Regions from separate parts of the Homo sapiens genome. Here region 1 is linked to region 2. Evidence: promoter capture Hi-C in 16 types of primary human blood cells and fetal thymus (Javierre and others, 2016). All regions are on one chromosome and are shown on one strand. Each heading gives the region's core, a stretch centred on a gene start or on the middle of the fragment in contact. The rest is flanking DNA. Distances are from core to core; before and after follow the strand shown. Region 1 overlaps LOC107985960 (a long non-coding RNA gene). Region 2 holds the start of ITGA6-AS1 (ITGA6 and PDK1 antisense RNA 1).

Evidence for each region. Contacts are between HindIII fragments. The CHiCAGO score rates a contact against its expected background, and 5 or more counts as called.
Region 1: a contact is called between a fragment that was not itself captured here and the fragment with the promoter of ITGA6-AS1 in region 2, in 5 of 17 cell types (megakaryocytes, endothelial precursors, naive CD4 T cells and 2 more). The highest score is 9.5, in megakaryocytes.

Annotation. Positions count from the first base shown.
Region 1 is chr2:172,334,710-172,341,625 of GRCh38, reverse strand. The region is part of intron 4 of LOC107985960 (a long non-coding RNA gene); the gene reads right to left. Among named protein-coding and RNA genes, the nearest start is that of ITGA6, 89 kb to the left of the region's middle. The HindIII fragment of the contact is 1,660 bases long and covers 854-2,513 here.
Region 2 is chr2:172,460,485-172,467,284 of GRCh38, reverse strand. ITGA6-AS1 (ITGA6 and PDK1 antisense RNA 1) reads left to right here and starts at 1,263. Exons shown (of 2, transcript NR_157573.1): 1 at 1,263-1,461; 2 at 2,711-3,023. It overlaps ITGA6 (integrin subunit alpha 6), which reads right to left. Exons shown (of 26, transcript NM_000210.4): 2 at 1,622-1,746. It overlaps PDK1-AS1 (PDK1 and ITGA6 antisense RNA 1), which reads left to right. Exons shown (of 4, transcript NR_199657.1): 4 at 2,711-3,019. RefSeq lists an enhancer at 853-1,022. The HindIII fragment of the contact is 13,641 bases long and covers 1-6,800 here.

The DNA of each region.
Region 1 (6,916 bases), core at 434-2,933, 130 kb after region 2:
AATTAGCTGGGCTTGGTGGCGTGTACCTGTAATCCCAGCTACTCAGGAGGCTGAGGCAGGAGAATCGCTTGAACCCAGGAAGCAGAGGTTGCAGTGAGTCGAGATTGCACCACTGCACTCCAGCCTGGGCAACAGAGCGAGACTCTGTCTCAAAAAAAAAAAAAAAAAAAAAGAAAGAAAGAAAGAAAAAAAGAAAAAAAATCCTTACAACCAGTAGGACATCAAAGGCAAGACTAGCTTTACTCCACGGGACAGTAGACATGGCACGAAAGCTGCTGCTGGGTTACAGGCTCAGGGTGTGTCACCAAGGGAGGGGAACAATGAGATTCAGCCGTTACTCACCACCTGAGTCCATTCCGCTTAGAACCCCAGCCAAAAGATAAACAGCAAGAGGGAAAAGAACTCTGTAAATATCCCCATGAGAACAATGAACAAAGTTCATGTATTTTATCTGCCTGTGTAAGCGTAGGCATAAAGCCCCAGCGGAGTCTTATTTTTCTCATTGTTCCAAGAGACAAGTCCTATACCCCCAAGAGAGGGGAACCCAGATCCCCTATTAATGAAGAGGTTGTAAGACAGCGAGGGTCAGTCTGCGTCCTCCAAGAAGTCGAAGCAATCAGATCAGGGAATTTAAAAAAGGAATCTTTTCTTCAAAGTCCTTACAGGGATCTTATCATGTAGTCCATGCAAGTGATTTAGAAAGTCCAAGTCTTATCATGGAACAGACAAAGCCAGTCTCCTGCTTTCCTCCCCTGACCTGTCCCCTTTCAGCTGTTTCTTATATTCTCCTTCAAATTTCTAAATAAAATGCTTGTGCTGCTATTGAGTTATCCAGTAGGGACATCAATAAGCTTCCCATTAGGCTAGGAGACTCTTTCTTACACTTTCCTCCATATTTTGCCTCCCTCTATTCTCTCGATATAGATAAATTATAATTTTTGGTTAAATCTATCCTCTGTGTTTCCATTATTAGATAATTGCTCAATGCTGAGGACAGGAGTGCACTATCATTTTACTTCCTTTGCCTTCTGGTGTGCAGGGTTGCTACTGAGAAATCCTGTGCCCTTCTACTTTCTGTTCCTCTGAACAGAACCTGTTTTATCCGTCTAGGGAAATGTTTACGGTCTTCTCTTCATTCACGGTTTCTGAAATTCCAAAGTGGTATAAGCTGGCATGGATCTTTTCAAATCCACAGGAAATATTCTGGTAATATTTCTTTGCCCATTCTTTCACTTTCATTTTCTTTATTTTGTCTTTCTGGAATTCCTCTTAGGTGAATGTTAGCCCTCCAGGACCAATCCTTTCATTTTCTTATCATGTCTTCCCTGTTGTCCATGTTTTTTTGTTCATTTGTTCATTTTTCTGGGAGTTTGTTGTTGTTGTTGTTGTGTGTGTGTGTGTGTGTGTTTTTTTTTTTAGGGCTTTTAAGACCTTTCTTTCTTGTCCTTTGATGATTTCTGAATTAAAGCATCCTGTTCTGGATTCACGGGTACAGCACCCTCTCTTATCTCCCTACCAATATCAAATAAGTTTTTGTATGTTTATAAAGGTTACTTCTGTTCCCTTTCATTGTTTGTTTCTCCTAAGTATTTTTTCCCATTTGAATGATTTTGATCTCTTTTATGTTGAAGTCTTTCCTCCAGAATCAGGTGGCCCTCGCATGCCCATTCTTATTGAAGACGAAGATCCAAAACTCTGATTCATGGGTTTGCTTTGAGACACGTGGGCAGGCTTGTGAGCTGGTGAATTTCACTGACAGAAACCTAATACTGAGGCAGCCTTTTCAGAGTAGGGCCCCAAATGGACTTTAGTCGGTCTTCTGTCTGCAGCTCAGTTCCCCCATGGCAGACAGAATCCCTGCTCTCTGGCTGGAGAGGATGCCTGCCTGGCTGCGAAAGAGGCAGGGGCTAGCTGGGGTCATCATCTCCATTCAATCATTGTCAGTGCTGACTTTCACTTTCCCCCAGTACCAGCTCCAAACCTCACTCCTGCCCTCCTCTGTGCTAATGTGGCTATGTTCATAGCCTTTTTGGTTCCACATCTCTAGAGAAAAACTTCCAGCCTTATGCAAGCAGGTGGCAGAGGAAGGGGAGGGAGAGGAATTGTGTGGTTGCCCAGTCGGGGAGAACACTTAGGGATCTAATTCCAGACTTCTAAGCAGCCCCCTGCATTCAGTTGCCAAACTCCTTCCTGCCTCCTGCAGCACTTGGTGCCCCAGAACCTCAACCTTTCTGAGGTTCTGCTGGGAGGAAAAGGGGTGGGTATGGCACACTCCTCCTTGGAATGCCCTCTGAAGACTAAACCAATCACCACCCCTCCACCTGCTTTCCATCTGTCTACACCATGGAGCCAATTCAAAATCTGTGTAGCTCCTCTTCCAGGGTATCTGGTTTTGTGCACTGGTACCCTTTTATTCCTCTACTAGAATTTTTAGTTGGTATCTGGTTTTGTGCACTAGTACCTTTTTATTCCTCTACTAGAATTTTTAGTTGGGGTTTTGGAAGGCAGAAGCTTAGGTCTGCCATGTTTAATCATAAGCTTTGTCCCACTATGTAGATTTCACACGTGCTCTCCAGAAATCTGCTTGCCTGTAGTCCATGGAGTCCACTGGATTTTCTGGGCTTATATAGGCGGATGGTTCTAACCTTGGATCTGCCAGGCACCAAATGTGTGGCCTTACGTTAACTGATTCACCTCCCTGGGCCTCATTTCTTCATGTAAAAATTGGGGATAAAGGAGGGCTCCTGTGCATTAAATTTTTTTTTGTAAATTATTAAATTATCATTAACAGAATTAAATTGCCTATTGTGTTAAAGATAATGTTCATGATAATAAGCAAGTGGGGTAGGCACACATTACCCCATTTTTCAAATGAATTCTACAAAAAAGGGGCCTAGTCTCTGTAAGGGGGCAGAAGATACTTGTTCGGTGCCTTGTGATTTAATTCTCCCTTTATTATGTTTCATCCTCCATGCGAAATTCAGATTTTCCATTAAATGGCTGATTCTCCCATTTGAAAAGTTAAATGTGGTGATTTGGGGTGGGGGGAAGTAAAAGAGTTCTATCTGGTTATTTATTTTTAGGAATACAGAAAGAAGGAAAACTAAGGTCCCTAACTGTGAAGAGGAGGTATTCTTGGGCCCTTGCCTTACCTTTATTTTAGATGATCTTTCTTTACTTAGATGATCAACCTCTCAGCATCCAATTTCAAAGGTATTTAAGTTTGTATTTTAAGTCAACAATTATTGGAGGAAGTTAAATGTTTTCCTGTAGTGTTTTGCCTCTTTGTAAACTAAATAAGGTTGTATGCATATTTTACCTGCTGAACATTGACCTCCATGAGGGCCTGGGATTGTCCCCATTTTTCTGTTGGCCACTGAATATAGCATAATGCCCAGCACATCCTACATCATAGCCCTTAGGAGCTACAGGAGATCTTAAAGTATATCTACTCCAGCCCCTTTGTTTTACAGACAATCTAGAAAAGCCCAAACAAGATGAAATTATTTGCCTGAGAACTCTGAGGAAGAGACTAAACCAAAACTTGACGTGGGCCTCTCAGCTCAGAATTAGTGCTTTCCACTATACCAGGCTGCCCAGAGTAGGTGTTTAGTAAGAATCTGGTGTTCTCAACACAGCCTAATCTTTCGTGTTCTCTCCATTATAGCCCAGCTTTTTCTTTTCTTTAAATGCTGATGGATTTAAAAAGCAAAACAAAACAGCAATAAGGCTTAACATAAACCTAATAGCTAATTACATCAAGAGAAAAGAAAGCTGGGACCTTACATAGTAGATGACTTAACTATGTACTCTAATATAATACATAATCAAAACTACTCTCTTTAGTAAACATATTTCCACTAATTTATTCTCCCATGAAGCAAGCCATAGGTGTGCATGTTTTCTACCTTGGATGCTGACTATGTTGTGTACCTTCAGAGTCTTTACTTCTTTAAACCTGACAAAACTGGCCCCAAGTGACCTCTGCTCTCTGATCTTAGTGCTGCCTTCATTAGGGTCACCTGAATGAGTTCAGATGGGCACAACTGACTTAATCAATAACAGGGAGTCATTTATTGTAGGATAGAGGAGTGTATCCTGGAACCTCAGGGCAGGAAGACCAGTCAGATGATCCCAAGGAGCTGAAAACCTAGAACCAGAAAGCCAGCAGGAGCCACGGGAGCTCCCTGCAGCCTCACTCCCGCCCCTCACACCCTCCCTCTTGGTGGGGCCCCGTGGTCTCTATCCCTGCCTGCATGTGCACTCCCTCTTTTTCTCTCGGCAGACCATCTTTCTTCCCTGGCCACCCACATGTCCTCCTCATCACTCGTGGGCTTACATTCCCTCCACTTCAGCAGTAAGTAGTGCCTGAGACTCCTATTTCTCAGCCTGAATTCCAAACTGGCAGGAGAAGGAACCCATTGCCACTGCTTAGACCAATATCCCCTTCTGCTCTAAGTAATCACAACTGTGGGACAGTTGCCCATCCAAACATGGTGGCCAGGCTGCTGACAACTGACCTAAGTCAATTTGGCTATTCACATCTGTCAGGTTCATTTTTGGCAGATAATGGCCATCTTCAATAGCTAGAGGTCTATAAAAGCCACAGTTCCCCTCCCCAATGACCTCACTGTGAGGTGTGTGAAAATGAAGGCAGATTTCATTCAGAATTCTGCCACACATACCAACATTTATGAATAAGCAGGCACAAAAACATATAAGCTCCAGCAGCAGAGTCAGTTCAAATTCCAGTGGCATTAGTGACTGAATCCTCTGCTATCTGTTGGGGCACAGAACACAACTAAGGCCCCTTCCACAACACCGCTGCAAAGGGGGTTAAGCTGGCCATCTCATTCTAATACCACATTAATGCAGGGCGAGAGGTGCCTTTACCTTTACAATATCTGTAGCCAACCCACATTTTGTCCATGAAAATCTCTTATGCTAATTAACAGACCATGTGAAGATTCAAGTGGTGGTCTTCAGCCATGTCTGGAGAGTGGACTCCAAGCAGAGCCCTGCAAATGTATTCACCATGCCCTGGAAGATAGGCTCCTAATTGGGATTTCAAAGATTAACCAACCCGCCCTGTGTTTAGATGAAAGCTCACACACACACACACACACACACCCCTGGATTGTGGTGGTAGGTTGGTTGTAAAACGGCCCTGTCAGATGAATAGGCTTCCTTTAAAGAGTGGTCTTGGAAGCCCCCATCCCTACTGCTTGGATGTCACTAGCCAGCCCTGCTAGCAAAGGCATCTTGGACTACTCAGGGGTCCTGTTAACAAGGAAAGTACAAACTGGTTGGGCAGCCAGCAGCTTCTTTTGTGCTAGCTGGGACTACAGGCGCCTGCCACCACACCCAGCTAATTTTTCTTGTATTTTTAGTAGAGACGGAGTTTCACCGTGTTAGCCAGGATGGTCTCGATCTCCTGACCTCATGATCTGCCTGCCTCAGCCTCCCAAAGTGCTGGGATTACAGGCATCAGCCACTGTGCCTGGTCCCGACTAGCACTTATTCTTGATCCCAAAAGCTTAATTCTGTTTTCCAGACCAGCATGAAAGTCATTTTTTTCTTGTCAAGGATCCTATGGAGCACCGACTGGTTTCTGTGAGGCTGACTGCACCTATCTGGAGACTGTTAGAAGATTATGTAACATCATTGCAGCTTGCTCTGTGCCAGGCGCTGTTTCATGTGTATTGCCCCAGCTAATCCTCACATAAACTCACAGGGCAGGCACTACTGTCCTCCACACCCTGCTGATAAGGAAACAGATTGAATGTAATCAGCACCTAACCCAGGAGGGTGGGGAGGCAGGATTTGACTCTTGGACACGTTTGAAATTATTCTTCAATTCTAAAATGCTGTGGCTGTTTAGAAAGGCTGTGATGTGTGTACTGGGTGTAACTGTGTCCCCCTTGCAAGTTATGTTGACAGCCTAACTCCTGGTAGCTGTGAATATGCCTTGTCTGGAAATGGGGTCTTTCACATGTGATCAGGAGAATTTGAGATCACACTGGATTAGCGTGGGTTCTAGTCCAGTGACCGGTATTCTTATAAGAGGGAAATTTGTAGATACATGTGGAGGAGAAGGCTGTGTGAGGGCAGAAGCAGGGATCAGAGTGATGCATCTACAAGCCAAAGAAGGCCAAGGGGTGACAGCAAACACCAGAATCTGGGAGAGAGGCCTGGGGTGCTTTCTCCCTCAGAGCCTCCAGAAGGAACCAACCCTGCCAATACCTTGATTTCGGACATCTGGACTCCAGAACTGTGACAGAAGAAACATCAGTTGTTTTTAAGCCACCAAGTTTGTAGTGATTTGTCATGGCAGCCACAAGGAATGAGTCCACTGTGTAAATATGTGAAGAAGGTGCAAGAGCCTGGTGCAGCCTGCTGCTGCCTCCACCCCTGGTGCACACGAGACTGGGCTGAGGTAAATCCAGGAGCCACCAGAAGAGGGGCACAGCCTCAGCTCCTGAATAGACAATGTCTTCACAGAACAAGCCAGTCTCTCCCCTGGCATGCAAATGGGGCCTGGGGAGGGACCCCCAATGGTGCTGGGTTTGGCCGGTGTGGCTGAGCCACAGCCATGAGAACTGAGCCATGTGCTCAGGACACGGGATCTGTTAGGGCTGGGCAAAGGGGGATGCTTTTGACTTTTCTATTTGACTTTTGTTTGGATTGCACTGAAATTTTTGTTTGTGAGGGACTGGATCTATTTGCTGAGTGAAGAATCACTTGCATTTTCAAAGACCAGGGTTTTCTACACTTTGGTCATTCCATCTTCAAAATGTCAAATGGACATAGCACCAACTGCCTTTTAAAAGGAATTTTAGCGTCAGATGCAGTGAGTCATGCCAGTTATCCTAGATCTTTGGGAAGCTGAGGCAGGAGGATTGCTTGAGGCCAGGAG
Region 2 (6,800 bases), core at 14-2,513:
TTGAAACATAAAGTACTTAGCTCTATATAGTTGCCTATTTTGTCCAACAATACCCTTTGCCCTCTCTTGATACCTAGGGTCCTGAATGCAGAAGGTAAGTGAAACTGTAAGACTAAGGGAGCCCTCCAAAATACATCTCTTAAGGCAACAATGTAAAATCTAGTATTCCAAACTGCAGCTACCATCCAAACTAACAAAAAAAATGGGTACTTCTCTATATACTCCCCAATTTTTTTATTTAACAGCATTAAATGTTCTCTTCTTTACTGGAGATGGAAGAAAAAGACTCAGATTTACTTTAGGATCTTGTAGCTGACAATGTATCAATGCCAAACAGGAGAGTTACTGTTAGTCAGAGAGACGGGGACCACAAACACCACCAGGTGCTCATTTCAGTATCAATTTAAACCCACTGTGTGACCTATATCCAAATTTTGCACTCCTCCATAAGTAGCAATACAGACACAGGTTTTAATCTTGAATCATTACAAAAACATTAAACAACTTTAGACAGAAGGAAAAATGCCAAAATGTTAAAAAATAAGTCTAGATACTGAGATTGCCAGTGGGTTTTTTTATTCTTCATAGGTCTGTGTATTTTACCAGCTTCTTAAAATTAACACATATTAGTTTCTAATAAAAGAACACATGTTATTTCTTTTCTTGAGATGGTATCTTGCTCTGTCACCCAGGCTGGAGTGTAGTGGCACGATTTTGGCTCACTGCAGCCTCTGCCTCCCAGGTTCAAACAATTCTCACGCCTCAGCCTCCTAAGTAGCTAGGACTACAGGCGTACACCACCACGCCTGGCTAATTTTTGTATTTTTAGTAGAGATGGGGTTTCACCATGTTGGCCAGGCTGGTCTTGAACTCCTGACCTCAAATGATCCACCCAACTCGGCCTCCCAAAATGCTAGGATTACAGGTGTGAGCCACCGACGCCTGGCCAACAAATGTTATTTCTAAAAGATGAAGAAGCAAGAGAAGAACATAGACACGAATCTGCAAATCTACTTAGACCGAACATATCAAACGAGGTTTGGCTAGAGCTTCTCAGTACACTAATTGCTCTGCTCAACCTACAAGAAGCCAGGTACACTGGATGTCAACATGCCTACCTCATGGTATCTTCTACCTATCCAGAGCCCTTAACAAAACAAGTCTCTATCTGAGACAGGAGGGAAAACTTTATCTCTGTTAGCCAGCTCTCATTCCAAAGGGGTCTGATATTTAAAACTGTCTTTCTCCCAAATATTTTAACAGCATGTGAGAACTTTTGGCTGATGAATACAAGATACGCTCATTCATTCTCTTCATTGCTATGAAATGAGTTTTTCCACAACCTCCTGCAGAACCTCAACACATCACTAGGTGGCAACATCCCTACACCATATCGGTTTAGAAACCACGGTTAGGAGGAGCAGCAAAACACGCGGCATCCCAGTATGATTCAGAAGTAAAGTAAGTAAATATTTTCAGGGCAAATAAAAAACAGTCAAGTCTGATGCAATTAAAAGAAGTCCTCTCTACAAGAATAAATGTTTGTCCCCACTCTCCTCCCTCATGGAAACAGTACAGGCAAGCTGCCGGAGTGAACGCTGAGTGAGGGAAAGGAACGCACCATCGTTATCAAACTCGATCCGCGTGCATGGCCCCCGGGCGGTGATGTCGCAGCTGTACAGCCCTCCCGTTCTGTTGGCTCTCTGCAGTGGAAGCGCTTCTGCCCGCGGGGCCCCCACGAGCAACCTGTTGATGAAACAGAGACAATTTGGAGATTTGAATTTAATATACGTTTAACAGTTAAATCAGTCAGAACTAGGAGATAGTGGGATTATTCTTTGTCTAGGAGTCCACTAATTCTTCAACAGCTTAGGCAGTGAGTGAGAACAAATGTAGAGTCCTATGGCTGGTTCATGCAAAACGCACAAACACAACTAAACAGGGGAAGCCAAAGAGGGGATACCAAAACGAGGAAAATAGGCCTGTCTCTCATAGTATCAGCATTTCTTGCTGGGTATGATCTGGTGTTTAAAAGACACCCTCTTCAAAGAATACAACCTCTAAGCCCCTATGATGCCAGGGATATCATATGAAACTCAAGAGAAGAAACCAAATACTTGTGACAATGGAAGGAAAAAATGGCCACACTAAATGTAATAAGCAATAATATGTCAGTTTCTAACACTGTGCCTTCCTGAGGTAGTTTTCAAGGGTAATTCTGACTATATCTTAGATTTTCAGTTTATATACTAATTGAGAGAACCTAATGGTAAGTAAGATACAACTCGACTGAATTATTCACTTGCAGCCTTGGCCTCTTTCCAATTCTTTTTTTTTTTTCCCTCCAGTTTTATTAGGGTAGAATGGACAAATAAAAAGCAGATATATTTGAGGTGTACAAGTTGATGTTTGTTCTTCCAAGTCAGTTCTTACTTCCTTGCACTTTTGTCACATTACAAGAGTTCGTCCTCTCTCATCCTATCAGTCTCCCACAAAGGATTCAGGGACAACTGGTGTAGCTCCACTTATGTACTAGGCACTGTAATATTCCTTCTTCTCCCCAGCCGAGTGTTTTTATCTCCTATAAGGAGGCCCCCAGTCCAAATCCACAGTCCTTAAAATTTCACCATCTCACAGCTTGACAGGCTCTTTAGAGATCCAATGACCTTGTTGCTAGGTCTCTTTTGCTAACACCTTTACTCACCATCAGGTTTACAATCTTTGAGGCCTGGCTGACTCATGGAACAACTAGGACAAGAAACAAAGACAAAGAACACACACCTGACTGGACAGAGATAAACCAAGAGCTGAGAGTTTTGGAAACAAGGCTGGAGCTGAGGAAAAGGACTGGGAACACGAACCTGTACAAACAACAAATTCTTACAACAGAAAACAAGCCACTCCTGGCCATCAAGAAACCCACAAATCTCAGAAGCAAAAGCAAAACAAATGAAAATACAAACCAAATAGTCTCTATTACCTTCATGCCTGTTGGGTCCCAATAAAGGAATCATTCCAATAAAGGATTCAACATATTTTTTTTAAACCAATATCATGCAGCAGGTGCCACCGGAGGCAAGTGTACCTGGAAAGCAGGGAGGGGGGCCAGATGATGCCCAGACAGAGAAGGAGGGGTGGCTCATGGATAACACATAGCCCCAGCACTGTCCTTCCTCCCAGATCCCTGGACAGTCACAGTCAGCCCCCACCTCCAAACCCACCCTACATTTGAAGGAACAAAACAGCACACACCAAGGTACAGAACTGACACACAGACTTTTAAATTAGGAACTGGAGCAGTGTCCTTGGTGCCTGAACCTTCTTGACAGAGGACAGAGGCAAGGCCGGGGCCACAAGGGTCCCCACAGGTCTGCTCCACTCCTATTCCAGTGATGTCCCCGATCCCAGGAATGCCAACAAACAAGTACCTGGGAGGTGAACTGCCTAGACTATAAGGTGAATGTGTTAAATTACTGTACTTGGCAGATGTCAGAGGTGGAGTCATGTGGAGGGTGCTGGAAGGGATAAGTGGGGTGCCAGGATCAGAGGCCCAGAACCCCAGGACTTTCACACTGGAAGCCCCTGAGAGAGACCAGTCCTCCAGTTTTACAGATAAAGAAACAGAGGCCTTGAGGAGCTTAATTACTCATCCCCCAAGATCTCACAGCTAGTGGGTGGCCATGACAAAAATTATCTTGGTGCAATGTTGTCTCCATTTCTTTACAAAGCTGCTTAGGAAGTAAAACCCAGGATTTCAAGTTTACAACCTAGTTGAAAGGGCAAAACTTACACAAATAAAACATCACAACCAAAACTGTTCTGTATGCTGATAAAAGTTAAGATAATAGAGCCAAGTAGAGGGGAAGGAAGAAAAGCATTATTGCAGTTGGGTGGAGTGAAGGCTGGGTAAGAGATTTCCTGTAAAGGTAACCACCAGCAAAGAGAAGCCTAGAAAAAGCAGCACAGGAGTCCCATTGTCTTAACTGTGTGTCTTCCTAACCACTTCCTCTTCTCACCCACACCCAAGGTGGCTACTAAGTTACCTAAGGCAGGCACAGGGCTTATTTCCTGTTTATCCCATTCCCACATTCGTTCACCTATTCACTCAACAAACGCTGATTAAGAGCCTCCTAGGATGAATAAGGAATTGCCCCCACTCCTCAATCTCTGGCCTGGGGAAGCCTGATCCGTGAACAGGTCATGAGGTCATGAAACCACAGGGAGCTAGAGGCAATGAGAGGATGGTACAGAGTGCTGTGGGCACCAGCACCTGCTGGAGAGGAAGGGAGGATGTCACTAAGAGATGACAGCGGGACTGGAGGTGGCCAGGTAAGGAACACAGCATATGCAAAGGCTGCAAGGGAAGGAGCCAGAGAAAAGGGAGAAGAGGGACACAATGGGTGACAAGAAGGGGTCGAGGATCAGCAGCCTGGTCAGCAGCGCTAAAGGACGAAGGGTCAGAGACCCTCTGAACCCCAGGCTTCTGTAGCCTGCTGTGTCCTGCAGGGTACAGCTGCTTTTGGGTGTCCTGTGGTTTAAAAAGCTGTGGAGGTTGTCCCATTTACATGCCCAGTCCCTCAGAGTGGGTTGGCTTCCCTCAGCCTCTATCTGCCACTTGTTCTCCACTCTCTGTAACTAATACGTGTGGGACAAAGAATAGGCATTTAACTCGAATTTGTTGGCTGGTTACAGGGGCTGTGGTGACAAAATTTCACAAATGCCCACACCAAGCTCTTGCAGAAGAGGTCCTCGTGTCTTACATGCGGCGGCTACTGCAGATGACAGCAGACCACATGGCAGGATGGGGGCAGCAGGCTGGTTTGGGGAAAAAGGACAACAGATTCGAAAAGAGACCTGCAAACGACAAGAGAAATGTACCCACAGAGAATAACGTTAGCTGTTGCACCGCCTCTGGGCGAGCTCAGCCTGCACATGGTCCTGGCACTGTCCTTCCTCCACCTCAGGTGGTCCCACAGGGGATGGAGGAAGCAGGAGTGTTCCACCGCCCCTTGCAAATCCCCTGGGCAGCCGTGGGAGGAAGAGCTGACACCCAGCAGCAGAGGGCGCCCCTGCTCCAGTTGCGCCCGGTCTCCTGGGACCCACCGCGATAAGGTGGCAGAACCCATCACCGAAAGGTAAGGTAAAGCTACACCTTGATGAGAGAACACAGTAACCCCAACCACATTCAGCAACTGGAGGCGCCTTCATCCTCAAGGTAAAGCTGCCCTCCCTGGTTTGGGAAACAAGCAAAGGCTCTTAATTCGCCTGGAACCAGCCTTAAAGGCAGGAGATCACAGCCCATTAGCTGAGGCTGTGCCTAGCAGGAACAATAAATAAGGTAAATAGAGCTGTGTCCAAACAATGACAGCAGAGAACAACCTATCTACTTCCTAATCTAGGTCATTTAGGGTCTGGGTGCTGGTCTAAGCTGTTCAGGACATGGTTGGCTCCTGAGCTAGCAGAGTGGGTACAGGTCCAGGAGGGACAGTCTACACCTAGGAGGACCCTCAGCCCACACAAAATCCAATTTATGCTCAAATTCCAGCTTTCTTCCCTTTCCCTCCAAGGCCCTTAAATGCCAAAAACTGGGCCCAGGCCACCCAGATGGTTCAGTGTGAAAAGCAGGTACTCTCTGGGCACTACCAGGATGCTCACAGCAACTCCTAGGACCAGGGCAGCTGCAGCACTCATTACTGACCATCCCAGTACGTTTGAAGGAGGAAAGAGCTATGTGACAACTCGACCTTCAGAGCCACAGGGACCAAGGGATATGAGTTAGGGCCTTTGTAGGGAGGTGATAGAAATTAACAGAGCAGAGCCTGAGAGGTCTATTCCCATATGCGGTCAAGGCAAGAAAAACTAAACAAAGGGCAAGAATCTGGGTGTGAACTAAGATCATTTCAAAACCGGCCAGTGGACAATGACCTCCACTGAATTTTAAAGCTGCACCGAAATAAAAACTGCCTTGGGATTTCAGCATATCAGAAACCCACACTTAAAAGGCAAAACTCAAAACCACAAAATCATCTTTAACGATAAGAAATAAACACTGAGATACTAAAATGGAATGTAAAAATCTAACGATATAAGTATAACAGTAACTGGGAATATGATATAAATTCAGGTCTTTGGAGTCTAATCAGAGCTCTGGGCACAGAGACTCAGGACTCACTATCATGCTATGAACACAAGGTTATTTCAAAATTCTTCAAGTAAGCCACATCCGTTTCATATATTCAAGTTCTCCCCCAAAGAGAGCTGGTATACTTTTGCATAAATACTTCAAATCAAAAGTTCTAAACACTGGGACACTTTTAAAACTCCAAGAACAATGGCAGCTTTGCTTCACTGTCTTTGGCAATAATTCATTTCCTCAAGGATTAAAGATTCTGCCCCTAGCTATGCAAGCTGGTCAGAGGAAACATGAAATATTGCACCATTAGAACAAGAACACTATTATTGCTTAATTTAAAACACAGCCTGCTTAGTTTGTCCAAATTAAGACCTAAAAAGTTAGAAAGTAGCATTATGTGGCAATTGTGTCACCTTTACATTTAACCCATTTTCAAACTCAGAATTTAATTTTTGCTAAAGTAATAAGTACAAATGATAGGAAATCAAAAAATAAAAGACTTAACGGTAGAAAGCAACAGATTCCAAACTCATCCCAAGCCCCACACTCCGGACAAACCTCTTACTTTTCATTCTGGATTTACTTCTCCATAATTCTGGATTATTATATATGTATTGATTTATCAGCTTTAGGCAATAACTGTTGGCCCCATAATATGAAAAGGAAA